2 separate regions of the Homo sapiens genome follow, and region 2 is linked to region 1. Evidence: promoter capture Hi-C in 16 types of primary human blood cells and fetal thymus (Javierre and others, 2016). All regions are on one chromosome and are shown on one strand. Each heading gives the region's core, a stretch centred on a gene start or on the middle of the fragment in contact. The rest is flanking DNA. Distances are from core to core; before and after follow the strand shown.

Region 1 (2,803 bases), core at 208-2,707:
ATTCCGGTAAAAGGACCTGGTGATGCACCTGGGGAGGCAGGGAGGTGGAAAGGTAAGCTGGGAGAGGCTGATGCCTCCATGACACCCCCAGAGGCAGGACCTCCTCCCCCTGGGATCCACAGAATGCCTCACACCCCAACAGGGCTCACTTCACACGGCCCCGTGGTTCTCTGCCTCGGTGTCTGTGTCTCTCCTAACAGTCTGGGTGCTGGCCGGGTGCGGTGGCTCACGCCTGTAATCCCAGCACTTTGGGAGGCCGAGGCGGGTGGATGTGGATCACGAGATCAGGAGATCCAGACCATCCTGACTAACACGGTGAAACCCCGTGTCTCTACTGAAAATACAAAAAAATTAGCCGGGCGTGGTGGCGGGCGCCTGTAGTCCCAGCTACTTGGGAGGCTGAGGCAGGAGAATGGCGTGAACCCAGGAGGCGGAGCTTGCAGTGAGCCAAGATCGCACCACTGCACCCCAGCCTGGGCGACAGAGAGAGACTCCGTCTCAAAAAAAAAAAAGAAAAGAAAAAAGTCTGGGTGCTCCAGTTAGGGAGCAAGCGTGACTTGAATCCCTCATTCTTGGAGAAGGCCTGGTGCTGCCCTGACCTAGGTCTTCGTTCCTCTGTTCTCTTCCTGGCAAACTCCTGCTGATCCTCTCTCCCTTCCACATCTCCTCGACACTTCCCGCTCTGTTCCCCTGAGCTCTCAGCACCCGGGGCCAGTATCACTCAGCATCTCTCCAGAGTCCAGAGCTCAAAGCCAGGGATGTTCCTGGTCTCTGGGACTCGACCCACCCCGCAGTGTTCGTGGGAAAAATGACTCCGAGCAGGGGAGGTTCTGGCCCCAGTGGACCGGGCGGGACCCAGGGCAGGGACCTCGCCCTCCGCCTGACCTCTGAGTTGGCCTCTCGGGAGTTGCCGTGGCCTAAAGCACGCTCACCGAGCCCCCCACCAGAAGTCCCTCCCGCGCCCCGGCTACCCGCACCTGAAGCGCTCGTGGCCCGCGGTGTCCCAGAGTTGCAGCTTGACCCGCGGCCCGGCCCGCAGCTGCAGCGCGCGGCGGTAGCACTCGGCGCCCACCGTGGGCTCGGGCTCGGGCTCCGGCTCCGGGGCGCCAGGCGCGCCTGCCACGTAGCTCCGCAGCAGCGACGTCTTGCCCACCGCCGCGTCCCCCAGCAGCGCGACCCGAAATTGGTAGCGGCAGCCCTCGGCCTCCATGGCCGCGTCCGCCACCCCGCCGCCCCGCGGCGGTTTTGTCCGCGCCCCGACCCCGCCCCTGCCCGGGGCCCCGCCGGCGCCGCCCCCCGCTCCCCGCGCCCAGCCACCGTACCCGGCGGGGCACCGAGGGCGTCGGACCGAGTGGAAACTCCTGGCCAAGTTTCTCTCTCTCGAAGCCTCAATTCTCTCCTCTGTAAAAGGGGGCTAATGATGACCCCTACTTCACAGGATAAAGGGACTAAACTAGATGAAGTGAGGAGGGGCATGGGGAGGAGACTAACAGCGCTGAAGCATCCACCTCACTCATTTCTTAATCTCCAGCCCCACCCCCTTACCCGCTCCACACCGCTCCCCCGCCCCACCCCCCGCCTCCTCTGTGGGTTCCCTAGTTGGCGCCCAACCCTCTGCTGGACCCGGGAAGGCCACTCTGGAAGTGAGTGGTTAGTAGATGCTCCCTCTCCACCCAGAAGCCCTTTCCTGGAGCCCTCATTAGCCCCGGCCTGGGGCCTCTAGTTCAGTGTTCAGGTTCAACGTTCAACAGCCCCCACGGCTTCCTCTAATGCCTGTCTGAGTTGGACACCAGGGCCCCAGAAGGAACTTGGGCACAGTCTGGTTGAGGAGGCAGGACAGACACAGACAACTGCAGTTCTAAAGGGAGTGCAGTTGGCCTGTGGATTCGACAACTAACATGTATGAGGCCAACGGTCAGTTCATGTTTTGTGGACAGCAACCCTTTGACAGGGCCATGGGAGTGCCCCTCTTAGAGCTGAGGAGACTGAGGCTCAGAGGCACGGCTTGTCTCAGGTCACACAGCAGAGTTGGGACTCACATCCAGGTTTGTCTCATCCTTCATCACCCCTTCGATGCCACAAAAGGGGACAAAGCAGGTCCCACAAGCACTAAGACACTGGTTGAGTTTTGCTTGGGTGAGGGGCTAGGGTGAGGCAGCACATGAGCCTCCAAGGTTTACTCCACCCTTTCCAGGCTGGCCTTCTGGAAACCCAGGGCACTGAGGCTGGAGTTCCAGTTGCTCCAGCCAACTCTAGTCTCTCTAGTCTCGTTTTTATTTATTTACTTATTTTTGAGATGGAGTCTCACTCTGTCGCCCAGGCTAGAGTGCAGTGGCACAATCTCGGCTCACTGCAACCTCCACCTCCTGGGTCCAAGCCATCCTCCCAACTCAGCCTCCCAAGTAGCTGGGATTATAGGCACCTACCACCACGCCCAGCTAATTTTTGTATTTTTAGTAGAGACGGGGTTTCACCATGTTAGCCAAGGTGGTCTCAAACTCCTGACCTCAAGTGATCCGCCCGCCTCCATCTCCCAAAGTGCTGGGATGCTGGGATTACAGGTGTGAACCTGTACCACGTCTGGCCCACATGCACTTCTGACCATCTCTGATGTCAGTCTCTCTCCCAGGCTGCAGGCTCCTTGAGGGCAGGGGCTGATGATTGTATCCTCAGGGCCTAACTCAGCGCTTGGCATAAAGTAGAAACTCAAGGCGCAGTGGCTCACACCTGTGATCCCAGCACATTTGGAGGCTGAGGGTGGATCACTTCAGGTCAGGAGTTCGAGACCAGCTGGCCAACATGG
Region 2 (2,833 bases), core at 279-2,778, 180 kb after region 1:
GCAACATAGGGAGACTGCATCTTTACAAAAAGTAAAAAAATTAGTCAGGCATGGTGGTATGTGCCTATAGTCCCAGCTACTTGGGAGGCAGAGGTGGGAGAATTGTTTGAGCTCAGGAGGTCGAGGCTGCGGTGCTTTTTTTTTTTTTTTTTTTTTTGAGACAGAGGAAGACTGACCCCAAAAAATAAAAATAAAAAAATAAAATGAAAAAGAAAATAAGGCCAGCTGCAGAGGCTCATGCCTGTAATCTCAGCACTTTGGTAGGCCGAGGCAGGCGGATCACCTGAGGTCAGGAGTTCGAGACCAGCCTAGCCAACATGGTGAAACCCTAAAACTACAAAAATTAGCCAGGCAGTGATGGGTGCTTGTAATCCCAGTTACTCGGGAGGCTGAGGCCAGGAGAATCATTTGAACCCAGGAGGCAGAGGTTGCAGTAAGCTGAGATGGCGCCACTGCACTCTAGCCTGGGTGACAGAGCAAGACTCCATCTCAAAAGATAAAAATAAAGTAAAATAAAATACAAATACAAGTAAAATTAAAAATGGAAGAGAATTAAGTGAAAATATGCATAATTAATGCTGAATGCAGCAGTCTCTTCAGTCAGTTTTCTTCACCCCTTACCATCCAAACACAGTGGGAAGACTGTGCCCCTTAGACCCTGATACTGATATGAGAATGTTCATCAACAATAAGGCCAAGAAGCTCACCCAAAGGCAACCTGCCTATACATTTAAAGCTTCTAACTGGCTATTTAGTCCCTCACTTTTAACCATCAGCAGACAGTTAATTATTACTAGACATCAGAGAAAAACTCTAACATAAAAGAAACCAAATCAATATTTAAAAACAATGTTAGGAAAAAAAGAGACTATGCAGGGCAAGGAAAATCTGTTGAAAGAATGAAAGGATAGTATAAAAAGAAACATGCAGAGACTTCAAAAAGACCTCCTGGAGATTAAACTCTAATAGTAGAAAAGAAAAATTTAATAAAAGTAGAAGATAAAGTTGAATAAATCTTGCAGGAAACATATCTAAAGGAAAAAGAAATGAATTAGATAATTATTCCAGGAGGTTCAACATCAAAAAGCTACTGGCAACCAAGACAGAGGAAGACATGAGGGTTTAGGAAACAAAGGAGCTAACACAGGAAAGAAGCAAAGCTGTCAGGAAAATGGAGACTGGATAACCCAGGATGACAGTTGCGTACCACCTCTACAGACTGCAAGGCCACCTGTACACAGACTGGAGCAATGTGACTCAAGAGATATATTGAAAGCTGTCATCACCAATATCTCTGCTGCTATTTATCCTTTTTAAAGCTAAGAACACAGTACCCAGGTGAGCCTGGCCCTCAGCCTGTCTTGACTAAATGCTTATGGATTTCTTCTTTGAACATACTTGATTGCCTAATGAGTTCCAGACTCATTTCGCTCCACAAAAGTTTCTTTAACCCAGCGGTCCCCAACCTTTTTGGCACCAGGGACCAGGTTCATGGAAGACAATTTTTCTACAGACGGGGGTGTTGGGGTGGTTTGGGATGAAACTGTTCCACCTAATCACTGATCTGACAGGAGGTGGAGCTCAGACTGTAATGCTCACTGGCCCACTGCTCACCTCCTGTGGCCCGGGGGTAGTGGTGCAGGGTACTCCTGCTTAGGAGAAACCACAGAGCTAATCACTCCCTCTGACCATATTTCTGTCAAATGTCCAAGACCTAGTCCACACTGAAACCCTGCCCAATACAATCTCCAGGATTAAATCTTAACTTTACTCATGACTTCCATAGAAGGGCCTCTAGGAACCTCAGGAAAATGAAGCAAGTATAATCTGCTGATCTCTGGGGATCCCTGAGATCCTTTCAGAAGTCCAAGAGGTAAAACTAAATACATAAGAATACAAAAAAATTATTTGCCTTTTCCACTGTGTTGACACTTGCACTGATGGTACAAAAGCAATGGTGAGCAAAACTGTTAGCACCTTAACACAAATCAAGGCAACAGCACCAAACTGTAGCAGAAATCATTGTATTCTTCACAACTACACAGTTACAGTGAAAAATAAATTCAACTTTAAGAATGTCCTTGATAAAGCAATAAAAAATATTAGTTTTAATAAATATCAACCCTTTAGTACATATATTTTTATTACTGTTTATGATGAAACAGAAATATGTATAAAGCACATTTGTATACTAAGTATGATGGTTATCTCCAGGAAAGGCATTTGTGTGACTGAGTTGCAAACTGAACTAGACAGTTTTCTTCATGGAATACTATTTTTACTTGAAAGACTGAACAACAAGCTATGTTATTCAAGCTTAGATAGCTGACAGGCATTTTCTCAAAAGTAAGCCTGTCACTAATAAAGAAAATTAACAGTATTTGTTGCTAGTGATAGAATTCAAGCTTTCAAGTGAAATTCCTATTTTGGAAAATTTACATCCAGAATGAGCTTGACAGCTTCCCAACATTTAACATTTTTTTCAACGAGACCAATAGTGATATTAACGAACATGATATTTAAATATTATATAATGAAATGTGTAAGCATCTGTCCAGGTAGAAAAGGTCCTAGAGACCTTAGGTCTATCCTTCTGGTACTTTATTCGTAAAAATCCCTCACTACTTTTATTTCCAGAATACCACAAATAATTCTTTCTTTCTTTCTCTTTCTTTCTTTCTTTTGTTCATTCGTTCTTTCTTTCTTTTGTTCATTCGTTCTTTCTTTCTTTCTTTTGGGTGGTTTCTGTTTTCTTTTTTTCCTTTTTTATGTCATTTTTTACTTCAATAGGTTTTGGGGAATGGGTAGTATTTGGTTACATGAATACGTTCTT

Evidence for each region. The method cuts DNA at HindIII sites, captures the fragments that hold promoters and counts their contacts. A CHiCAGO score of 5 or more calls a contact.
Region 2: a fragment that was not itself captured here is called in contact with the fragment with the promoter of RAB42 in region 1 in 14 of 17 cell types (M0 macrophages, M2 macrophages, activated CD4 T cells and 11 more); the score reaches 12.9 in M0 macrophages.

What each region holds. Positions count from the first base shown.
Region 1 is chr1:28,590,919-28,593,721 of GRCh38, reverse strand. RAB42 (RAB42, member RAS oncogene family) reads right to left here and starts at 1,457. Exons shown (of 2, transcript NM_001193532.3): 1 at 978-1,457; 2 at 1-28. The coding sequence starts at 1,210. RefSeq lists an enhancer at 1-465 and a silencer at 1,247-1,316. The HindIII fragment of the contact is 13,184 bases long and covers 1-2,803 here.
Region 2 is chr1:28,411,752-28,414,584 of GRCh38, reverse strand. The region is part of intron 2 of PHACTR4 (phosphatase and actin regulator 4); the gene reads right to left. Among named protein-coding and RNA genes, the nearest start is that of PHACTR4, 43 kb to the right of the region's middle. The HindIII fragment of the contact is 1,580 bases long and covers 739-2,318 here.